Regions from separate parts of the Homo sapiens genome. Here region 2 is linked to region 1. The links are contacts of gene promoters, found by promoter capture Hi-C in human tissues and cell types (Jung and others, 2019). All regions are on one chromosome and are shown on one strand. The core of a region is centred on a gene start or on the middle of the fragment in contact, and the rest is flanking DNA. Distances in the headings are between cores, read along the strand shown. Region 1 holds the start of RNASEH2C (ribonuclease H2 subunit C). Region 2 overlaps FAU (FAU ubiquitin like and ribosomal protein S30 fusion).

Region 1 (5,140 bases), core at 663-3,162:
ATCACCAGCATCAAGAAGGAGGATGTCATCTCCACTCTGCAGTACCTCAATCTCATCAACTACTACAAGGTAGGGAGGCAGGCAGGGGAGACAGGTGTGTGGGATGCAGAGTGCAGTCCTCTGTGGGCTGACCACCTGCTGAACCCATCTCCTCTGCCCAGGGCCAGTACATCCTCACACTGTCAGAGGACATCGTGGATGGCCATGAGCGGGCCATGCTCAAGCGGCTCCTGCGGATCGACTCCAAGTGTCTGCACTTCACTCCCAAGGACTGGAGCAAGAGGGGGAAGTGGTGACCAGACACTGCCCACTGCAGTGCCAAGACGGCAGCAGGACTGGGGCTGATAGCCCACCCCGCCCCCACTGCAGCTCCCACAAAGCACTCTAAGGGAGATGGGGCTGAGGACAGCTCAAAAAGGAGAGGACAGGCCTGGCAGGGGCCCACTGGTGCCCAGCACCAAGGCGAGCTCCGGGCTCAGACCAACTCCAAGGTCAGCTGGCCACAGGCCCAGGCCTCCTCTGAAGCAGGGACCAGAGGGAGCCAGGCAGCTGTGTACAGTGAGAAGGGATCCGGATGGGGGAGCTCTGTACAGAGGGCTGGTGATTGTAAAAATTTCTTTTGTAAAGTAGAAGTTGGGGGTGGGGTGGGTGCTGGCTGCAAAAATTTCTGGCTTCTCTTACCCCTATTGCCCCCGGCAATAAATTGTTTCTATATGCCAGAGCCATGCAAAGTTCTTGGTGGGGAGGGGGAAAGGGCCCATGCTGGCTTAGGGGCTCTAAGGCGCCCAGACTCACAGGTGCTGTGAAGAGCTCCTTTATTGGGGTGATGGAATCGGTTCCAAAGAGCTGGTTTACTGCTGTGAAGGGATCGCAGCTTTGAATTTCAAGCTCTGGTTCTCAGTCCTCGGGCACCTGTGCGTGAATCTGCAACAGGAGTCGCCTCTACTGTTGGACTTGTAAGACAGGGCGGCAAGCTGGCCCCCATACCCGAGGAAGGACCCAGCTGTTCAGAATAACCGCTTCTAGACATGCTAGGAAGAGTGGTCAGGGAGCTACGCTTCCCACACACTACCCAGTAGAATCCTCCAGGCTCCGTCTGCGCAATTGTGCTCCCCAGCCCATCCACCCGGGGGCAAGACGGAACTCCTCGTCTACTCACCGCTGCCGCAAGGCTGGGCCAAGTTAAGGCCCCACGCACTTTGGCATCCGGGCCAGGGATGGTCTCCAGACCCCACAGGGTGAAGCGGCTGAAGTTGGCAGTGGCTCCAATGAAGCGGTCCTGGGGAAGGGGCCTGGCTCAGCATCGGGACTACAGCTCCCGCCCGCACCCCCTTTCAACCCTATCCCTTTGCTCACGAAGTCCCGCTCCAGCGGCTCCTCCTCTTGGTCGTCAGTCCCGGAATCCCGCAAGGGGTCTGGCTTCCCCATCGACACCTTCTTCTCTTCTGTCACCATCACGTATCCCACGAGGCCAGGCGGCACCGCCACCTCCTCTCCCCGTAGACAGCGGCCCCGAAACGACACTTCGAGTCCTGGAGCGGGAGGCGCAAAGGGCCTCAGGCAGGACCCACGCTGGGTCGAGCCCGGAGCTGCCCTCCCGCCACCTCCGGACGGACCACGATCCCCAGGAGCCCAGGCGATGAGAAGCGCGCAGGCCGGCGCGGGGGCTGCCGGGAGCCGTAGTCCGGCCGCAGGGCTCACCCTCGGGGCCCTGGCGGATGGCGGGCGTGAAGAAGCGCCCCACCGGGGCGGGCCCGTCCACCGCAACCTCGCAGGGCAGCAGATGCAGTGTGGCGGGTACGGCGTCGCGCAATGTGGCGGAGCGCAAGTGGACGCGGTGCCTCTCGATGGCCGCTTCGTCGCCGCTCTCCATCCTCCCTCCTACGCGACGCCAGGGCTCGCGAGCTGACACTGAAGCTGGCGCGGAAAGCGCGCAGGACCTCTCAGGAAGCCTCCGCGGGGCCTCACGGGAAGCCGCCGCGGAGCTTCACGGGAAGTGTAGTCCCCTTACCCCCTAACGCTTTCCCTGGGTTCAAGTCCTAGGGTTTTCCAGTTGTGTTTTGTTTTTTTCCTTCCTTCCTTCCCCCCTCCCCTCTTTCCTCCCTCCCCTCTCCCCCTCTCCTTCCCCCTCCCCCCTCCTTCCCCCTCCCCCCTCCCCCTCCTCCCTGCCTCCCTTCCTTCCCCCCTTCCCTTCCCTTCCTTCCCGTCCTTCCCTCTTTCTTTCTTTTTCTTATTTATTATTATTTTTTTTTGACAGAGTCTCGTTTTGTCGCCCAGGCTGGAGTGCCAGGCACGGTCTCAGCTCACTGCAACCTCCGCCTCCCGGGTTCAAGCGATTCTCCTGCCTCAGCCTCCGGAGTAGCTGGGATTACAGGCGCACACCACCATGCCCACCTAATTTTTGTATTTTTAGTAGAGACTGGGTTTCGCCATGTTGGCCAGGCTGGTCTCGAACTCCTGACCTCAGGCGATCCTCCAGCCTCGGCCTTCTGAAGTACTTGGATTACAGGCGTGAGACACCGCCCCCAGCCGGGTTTTTTTCTTTTATTGTTTTTAATGGCACATGTCGTTGTAAAAATCTAAAACGATTCTGAAAAGTACTCTTTTTATATTGATTAGTAGGTAGGTTATTCATTTTTAGTTTATTAGGGACATCAACCCTTTTCTTAAATGCATTGAAAATGTTTTATCTGTGGTCTGTCTTGCAAACCTGTGTAAAGGTGATTTTTGCTGGACAAGGACTTATTTTTGTGGTTGTTTGGTCTTTTAGACAAGGTCTCACTCGCCTAGGCTGGAGTGCAGTGGTTTGATTGGCTCACTGCAGCCTCGACCTCCCAGGCTTAATCCATCCCCCATCCTCAGCTTCCTGTGTAGCTGGAACCACAGGCCTGCGCCACCACGCAGCTAATTTTTGTATTTTTGGTAGAGGTGGAGTTTTGCCATGTTGCCCAGGCTGGTCTTGAACTCCTGGACTCAAGTGATCTGCCCACCTTGGCCTCCCAAATCACGCTGGAATTACAGGCGTGAGCCACTGCACCCAGGACAAAGACTAATTTTTTGTAGTCAAATTTATCAACACTTTTCAGTCTTTTAGATTTCACAATTTTCTCTCTTTGGTTTCTCAGCTCTTCTCTAATGTTTATTTGTTCAGACACCCAACTTAGATATATTTTTTCAAGTTCTCACATAAAACAAACACAAAACTGGAAATTTAGATTTAAATTGCGTTTAATTTATACATCCCTGCACATCTGGGAGCTGGCCTTGGTATTCTGTTGAATATAAACAATTTCAGAGAACATCAGCATCGGACAAGGTCACTCTGTGACCGTGAGGGAGCAAGACAGAAACAGAACCACTCCATCGTCACATCTGAATGCTGGCAAAGGTGAACACTGTCCAAACCACAAAAGGCATGAAACATCCCTCTTTCTCCCATAAGAGAGTGACTGTTGTTTCCTTACCAATTACAGCATTAGCCTCCAACTAATCTTCTCTCCTTCTGGGCAAGACTCATTAAGATAGTCCGTCATAGACATACCCCCACCTCTGACAGCATCCAAGCCAGAGAGAAGCCTGGCTTCCCTAAACCCTGACTGAAATCACTGAACATGGGCACAAATCCTCCTATAAGTCCTTTCTAGCACCCTCTTATTGAAATTCCCCAGAGTGCAGGAGTAATATACCCAATTTGTTCAACTGCAGATGTATTCCTGGTGCTCTTTCACTAGAGTGGCAGATTAATTTAGAAAAAGGCTTGCTTTAGTTTTCTATCAGGAAAGACATAATTCAATTTATTCACATCTCCTTGGATATCTGTACAGTTGTGAGGTTTTGTTCATATATAATAGCTATTAATACATATTGTAAAGTTTATTTCTTCTTAGCTTATATTAATAATTGTTTCTATTAAGAACTGAGGGGCTGGGCATGATGATTCACACCTGTAATTCCAGTGCTTTAGGAGGCCAAGATGGGGGAGGATTGCTTGAAGCCAGGAGTTTGAGACCGGCCTGGGAAACATAGCAAGACTCCGTTCCTACAAAGAAAAAAATTTTTTTAAACATGAGTGGGGCACAGTGGCATGTGCCTGTAGTCCCAGCTACTCAAGAAGCTAAGGTGGGAAGATCACTTAAGCCAAGGAGTTTGAGGCTGCCGTTCGAGTCACGATTGCACCACTGCACACCAGCCTGGGTTACGGAGGGAGACCCTTTCTCTAAAAACCAAAATTGGGGCTTTTATTTTTTTCATTTTATTTTCTAACTGATTTTCTTTTTAATCTATAGCAGGGGTTGGCAAACTTTTTCTGTAAGGGGTCAAATAGTAAATATTTTAGGTTTTGTGGACTTTATGGCTTCTGTCGCAGCTACTCAACTTCACCGTTATAGCATGAAAGCAGTCATAGACAATACATAAATGAATGAGCGTTGTTGTGTTCCAGTAAATCTTTGCAGAAACAGACAAGGGGTTGGATTTGAACCACAGGCCATAGTTTTCAGACCCCTTGTCTATAGCAAACCTGTTGATTTTTATATGTCCATTTTTAAACTAGATATCGACTGAATTATTTTGTTCCTAATGATTTTTATTTTATTTTAAGATCCCCAGAATTAGTCACCTCTCTTTCAAATAATAATTTTTACCTCACCATTACATCTTCTTTTTGTTTTTTGTTTTTTGTTTTTTTTTTTTCATTACACCTTGTAATTTGTTTTCTTTTCTAATTGCCTTGGCCAGTACTTGCAGAACAGTCTCTCAAATGTTACTGGTATCAGAGGACAACATTGTCTTTTTCCTGAAACTTTCACGGGAGTGCTTCTGCTGTTTCACCAATAATCATGAAACTGCCTTTTGACTTGTTATATATGTCTCATTAAAGCTGTACTACTAAGAGCTTTTAAAAATTGGGAGTAGATGTTGGATCTTATTTTTTATTTTTATGTTTTTGGTTTTGCAAGTTTCCTGTAGTCTGGATATTAGTAATTGCATTCCTATAGTGTCAAGGTAATCTATACCTGTATTTTCTGTAATTACATCTAGAAGCTTAATTCGATTCTTTGGGGAGGGGAGAGGGCAAGACTACTTCATGGGTGGTTTTGTGTTTTTCCCTCTTTTTGTGAGGTTAGCAGCCATAGATGAT
Region 2 (5,140 bases), core at 2,641-5,140, 600 kb before region 1:
CACTCATCCACCAGCACACCCAGGACCAGGAGCCTCGACACACTTGGGACTCAAGGGCTTGCACCCCACCCAGCCCTGAGGATGAACAACCTCAGAGAAGAGGTGGTTTAGAGCAAGGAAAAAAATGAAACCAGTGACCAAAATCGGAGATGCTCTTCCTCCTTTGGATAAACACTGGGAACCCTTGGTGCACTTCTCTCCCCTAGGACTGGCTGGGTCAGCACTGATCAGGGAGAAGCTGAGCAGTGGCTTGTGGGCCCAGGAATCTGGGGTCTGGTGGGACAATAGCTATCCCTCAGAAACAAGCAACAGGGCTGACCAGTCACAGCTTTATTAATGACCAGGGTAACCCGTTCAGCTAGGGAGCTCCTCAATGAGAGTTCTTGGGGCAGGTGGCACGGGGCCTCCCCAAAGCCGCTCCAGCTCCCCAGTGAGGGCGGCCACCTCCTCGGCTACCACAGCATGGGCTTGGTGAGCCCTGGCGCAGTCTAGGGCCAGGGGTGTGAGGGCCGCCTCATTTTCGTTGGTCCAGGCCAGGAGGAACTGGCACTTTTTCCGGGCCCGGTAAAGATGATCTCGCTCTTCTCTAGCCACGGCCTGTTTCCGGGCACGGCCCAGGGTCTGTGCCAGGTCCCCCAGTGCTGCCAGCGTGTAGCCTTTCTGGTTGGTCGGGCCCTCGCCCAGCAGGATGCGGGCGACCTCGTGCATAGCCCCTCGTGTGCCCAGGGGCCCCGGCGGGTGCTCGCCTGCTTCCAGCACGTGGGCTGCCGCCTGCAGGGCTTCTTCCGCAGAGGCGAAGACTTGCTGGGCACCCAGGGCTCCGGAAACGCCGAGCAGTGTGGCACAGAAGTCAGAGAGCAGCGCGTCGTCACCGCCGTGATACAGGGCGAGAGTATGCGCGTAGGCGAACAGCACATTGGGCAGCTGGAAGCGCACGAGCGGCGAGACTGGGCCGCGGCTCAGGCTGACTATCGCGGGGATGCGGGTGGGTACGACGGGCGTGCAGGCCCCCGGGACATCTCCAAGAACCCGCTCGGCGGCCGCGGGCTCCGCGGCGGAGGCATCTTTCACAGAATCCGGCGGGGTCCTCGCAGGGGCGAGCTCCAGCTCCGCGGCGTCACTACCCGGGGCATTATCCAGCTCCTCCAGAAGCTGCGGTCCGGCTCCGCGGTTCCACCACCACGGCCGCCATGGAGGCAGCAGCCGCCCGGCCTCACCGCGGCTCAGCAGCCGCTCGAAGGCAGCTTTTTCGCCCGGCGCCAGCCGCTCCCAGAGTCCCGATAGGCCGCCGGGCGCCGGGCCGGAGCTGAGGCCTGCTTCCCCAGGCTCGTCCTCGGTCTCGCGTTGCTGACGCAGCCGGCGTAGGGCGCTTGCTAGGCGGCTGGGAGGAGCGCTGCAACCGCGGAGCTCTCCCAGCACCTGGTCACGGTAGAAGTTTTCTGCGCAGGTGCCATGCGTCCGGTAGCAGCGCAGCGAGCAGTAGGGCGCATTACAGCGAGGGCAGGTGTAACGCGCTGGCTGGACCTCCCCCGCCGGGCAGAAGCCACAGGGCCCGGCCGGCTCCATGGCAACTGGCACCGCGATCTACCTGCGAACGCACGCCGGTGGTAGTTCGAAACTTCCGGGGCTTCTTCGATTACTTCCGGTTCGCAGCGCGGCCGACGGCGCGCTGTGTTTTCGCAAAGCTTCCGAGGATTCTCGGCAATTTCCGCCCACGCCCGAAAGCCAAGCCCCACCCCTTTCCCTAGTAGGGCGAGAGCAGGCCCAGAAGCCGGGCGTCAGGTACGAGCCCCGCCCTATGCGATGACGCAAGGAGCGAAAAAATGGGTCTGGCGAGCGCTTCGCCGGTGCCACGTCTCCCCCTAGTGGTCACACCAAAACGTGGCCCGATCATCTAAAGAGAAAACCCTCTTTTTAGCACTACAATGTGCTGTGGCATAAATCCATCTTTACTAGGCACCTACTCTGGGCCACTAATTGTGCCAAGCCTACGGGAGGCGATGCATCCCTGCGCTGGACACAGACAAATAAAATGCACTAGGGGACACAGACAAATAAAAGGACAGTTAGGGCCAGGTACGGTGGGTCACGCCGGTAATCCCAGCATTTTGGGAGGCCGAGGCGGGCAGATGACCTGAGGTCAGGAGTTTGAGACCAGCCTGACCAACATGGAGAAACCCCGTCTCTACTAAGAATACAAAATTAGCCGGGCGTGGGGGACGGGTGCTTGTAGTCCCAGCTACTCCTGAGGCTGAGGCAGGGGAATCGCTTGAACCCGGGAGGTGGAGGCTGCAGTTAGCCGAGATCGCGCCACCGCTCTCCAGCCTGCGAGCCTGGGCCACAGAGAGAAACTCCACCTCAAAAAGATAAATAGAAAGCAGCATTTAAGAAATATCTGAGCTCCTATGATTTTTTTCCTCCAAAACTGCCTCTTCTTTTCATTAAGTATCTTCTCATTAAATACCACTATTCATCCATCTTATTAAGTGCAGGCCCCATTCTAGGTGCCAAGAACACAATGCACATCAAAGGGAGCCGGGGGTCCCTGTTCTAATAGAGCTCACTCTTGTGGTGGAGTGGGGGGTGTGATGAACCAAACTGTGAGTGTTCTTTGCATCCCTGCTACTACTGGTGGTCTAAGCTTCCTGACCCCTCATGTGGATGACAACACATTAAGTGTTTTTCCTAACTTTCTTGCCAGCCCTCCAGAAAAACCTGCCAGAGAAATTAGATCACAAGTCAGATGAGATCCATCTGTTACTCAAAACCCTTCTGCGACCCTCCATTGCACTTGGACTCAAACCCAAACTCCTCTCTATGGCTGACAAGGCCTTGCAGGATCTGCCCGCCCCCAGCCCTAGACATCACCTCTTCCCCATCTTCACACAGTCCTCTAGGCTTGAAATATTCCCCTACCTGATCACTTGACTGGTTCATCTCAGGTCTCACTCACGTCATTTAAACAGGACCTCTCGGCTGGGCACAGCGGCTGACACCTGTAATCTCAGCACTTTGGGAGGCCAAGGTGGGCGGATCACTTGAGCCCAGTTCAAGACCAGCCTGGGCAACATAGCAAAACCCTGTCTCTACAAAAAAGTACAAAAAATTAGCCAGGTGTGGCGGTGCATGCCTGTAGTCCTCAGCTACTTTGGAGGCTGAGTAGGATCACCTGGGCCCAGGAGTTGGCGGCTGCAGTGAGCCATGATTGTGCAACTGCACTCCAGCCTGGATGAGAGAGACCTTGTCTCAAAAACAAAAAAGAAAAGGCCGGGCACTGTGGCTCATGGCTGTAATCCCAGTACTTTGGGAGGCCGAGGTGGGCGATCACGAGGTCAAGAGATCGAGACCATCCTGGCCAACATGGGGAAACCCCATGTCTACTAAAAATACAAAAATTAGCTGGGCGTGGTGGCACATGCCTGTAGTCCCAGCTACTCAGGGGGCTGAGGCAGGAGAATGGCGTGAACCCGGGAGGCTGAGGTTGCAGTGAGCTCGGATTGTGCCACTGCACTCCAGCCTGGCGACAGTGCGAGACTCTGTCTCAATAAAATAAAATAAAGAAAAAAGAAAAACAAAAAAAGAGGCCCTCTCTGGGATGCTATTGTATCTGTCCACATCCTCCCCCTTTCTAAACTGCTGGAAGGCAGAAACCATGTCTTTAACACCACAGAGACAAAAATAGCCAAGATTCACACACTCACTGTAAGCCAGATGTTGATTTACATCCTTTAACCCTCACAGCAGCCCTGGAGATGGCAGAGATTAAATTAGTAGTTAGTTCAAAGGCCAGCCACCCAGTAAATGGAGTAGGAAGAAAAAGAAGGTCCAAACTCAGGCAGTCAAAGTCCACAGCCCAAGGGCTTTACCCTGTTGGATGCTATTTCTCAAGAACTGGCAGGTCCAGAAACTTTAGCTGAATGAGTAAGTGGGGTTCAGAAGTGCTGGGAGGCTCAGTTGCCAGAAGAGAACCCTGAATCAGCCCCAGAGGTAACCCAACTTTTGGGAACACTGAAACCTCACTATATCCAATCACAGATGTGATTAGGTTACCAAGTCCGGCCAGGCAGTCACAGAGGTACAAACGAGGCCATGCTCCCAACATAATATTTACTTCTAAAACCAAGGCAGACCAGATTCCTGCCCTGGACTCTAAGGCCACAGCTGGTACCAAGTTCAGGGAACGGCCAGGTTCACCTTCTATACAAACCTCTTCCCCCACCCATCCCTTCTATTGCTGCCTCCATAACAAACCTCTCACCACAGTGATTCCTGCTACCTTCTCTGTTTAGAAGATGAAAAAGAATGACCTGGGGGGACTGATCAAGTTACTTAGGATAGGGAATAACCCCAATTTTACATCTGAAGCCCCCCAGGATCTGTAGCTGTTTCTTCACAGGAAATTTCTCTTGTAGTTTACCATTTCTTCCCCCCATACCAAAGGCTTCTGCCTTTTCTGCCTCACTGTTCTCCTAGGGGACATACCACCAACCCGAGAAGCACACCTCTCCCTGAGGCCTTGCAAGTAAAGATGAAACAATGCGATGACTGAACTAAGTGGCTTTTTTATTAGAGAAAGCCAGAATTACAAAAGACTTAAGAGTTGGCATTGGGGCCCTTCTTCTTGCCAAAGGTGGGCACAACGTTGACAAAGCGCCGGTTGTACTGCATCCGCCGCTTAGCCCGACCTGTCTTCTTCTTCTTCTTCTCCTGTTTGGCCACCTGGAGAAGGGAAGGTTAATCAGGCCCTGGTTCCTGTCTTCCACACCTAGCATCCCTTCCCTCAGGCTCATCTCCAGGGAGGGAGAAGGCAAACCGAGTAAGAGCCCAGGGACTTGGTTTAGCTGTGAAAGGAAAAAAAGTCCTAACACCATGACCACTAATACTCTCACTCACCTTAGGAGTCTGACCTCTCACTTTTCCAGCACGGGCCAGGGAACCATGGACTTTACCTGTAGTGGGAAAGGAAGGCACCAGCAGGTAAGAGCAAGAAGGTGCCACCCAGCAGAACCCCTCTTTTCTCAATTCAAGCCTTTAAAGAGAAGCTGCGCCCAATAGGTAATGAGAACAAAGTTGCAGATATTTGACCTTGAAATCTTAAGTTTCATTTCAGGATCTTCCAGCTTCTAATTTTATAGAGCAC

What was found. Contacts are between HindIII fragments. The study calls those that stand out against the background at their distance.
Region 2: a fragment that was not itself captured here is called in contact with the fragment with the promoter of RNASEH2C in region 1 in 1 of the 25 tissues and cell types used here (aorta).

What each region holds. Positions count from the first base shown.
Region 1 is chr11:65,718,886-65,724,025 of GRCh38, forward strand. It overlaps RNASEH2C (ribonuclease H2 subunit C), which reads right to left and starts at 1,913. Exons shown (of 4, transcript NM_032193.4): 1 at 1,702-1,913; 2 at 1,357-1,532; 3 at 1,160-1,279; 4 at 1-924. The coding sequence starts at 1,873. The coding sequence ends at 898. It overlaps KAT5 (lysine acetyltransferase 5), which reads left to right. Exons shown (of 13, transcript NM_182710.3): 12 at 1-69; 13 at 162-719. The coding sequence ends at 296. RefSeq lists a silencer at 1,599-1,838 and an enhancer at 1,989-2,058. The HindIII fragment of the contact is 7,035 bases long and covers 1-5,140 here.
Region 2 is chr11:65,116,088-65,121,227 of GRCh38, forward strand. FAU (FAU ubiquitin like and ribosomal protein S30 fusion) reads right to left here. Exons shown (of 5, transcript NM_001997.5): 4 at 4,894-4,949; 5 at 4,543-4,719. The coding sequence ends at 4,594. It overlaps TM7SF2 (transmembrane 7 superfamily member 2), which reads left to right. Exons shown (of 10, transcript NM_003273.6): 10 at 1-143. It overlaps ZNHIT2 (zinc finger HIT-type containing 2), which reads right to left and starts at 1,614. Exons shown (of 1, transcript NM_014205.4): 1 at 316-1,614. The coding sequence starts at 1,566. The coding sequence ends at 355. RefSeq lists enhancers at 1-487, 1,034-1,577, 1,570-1,864. The HindIII fragment of the contact is 3,455 bases long and covers 2,164-5,140 here.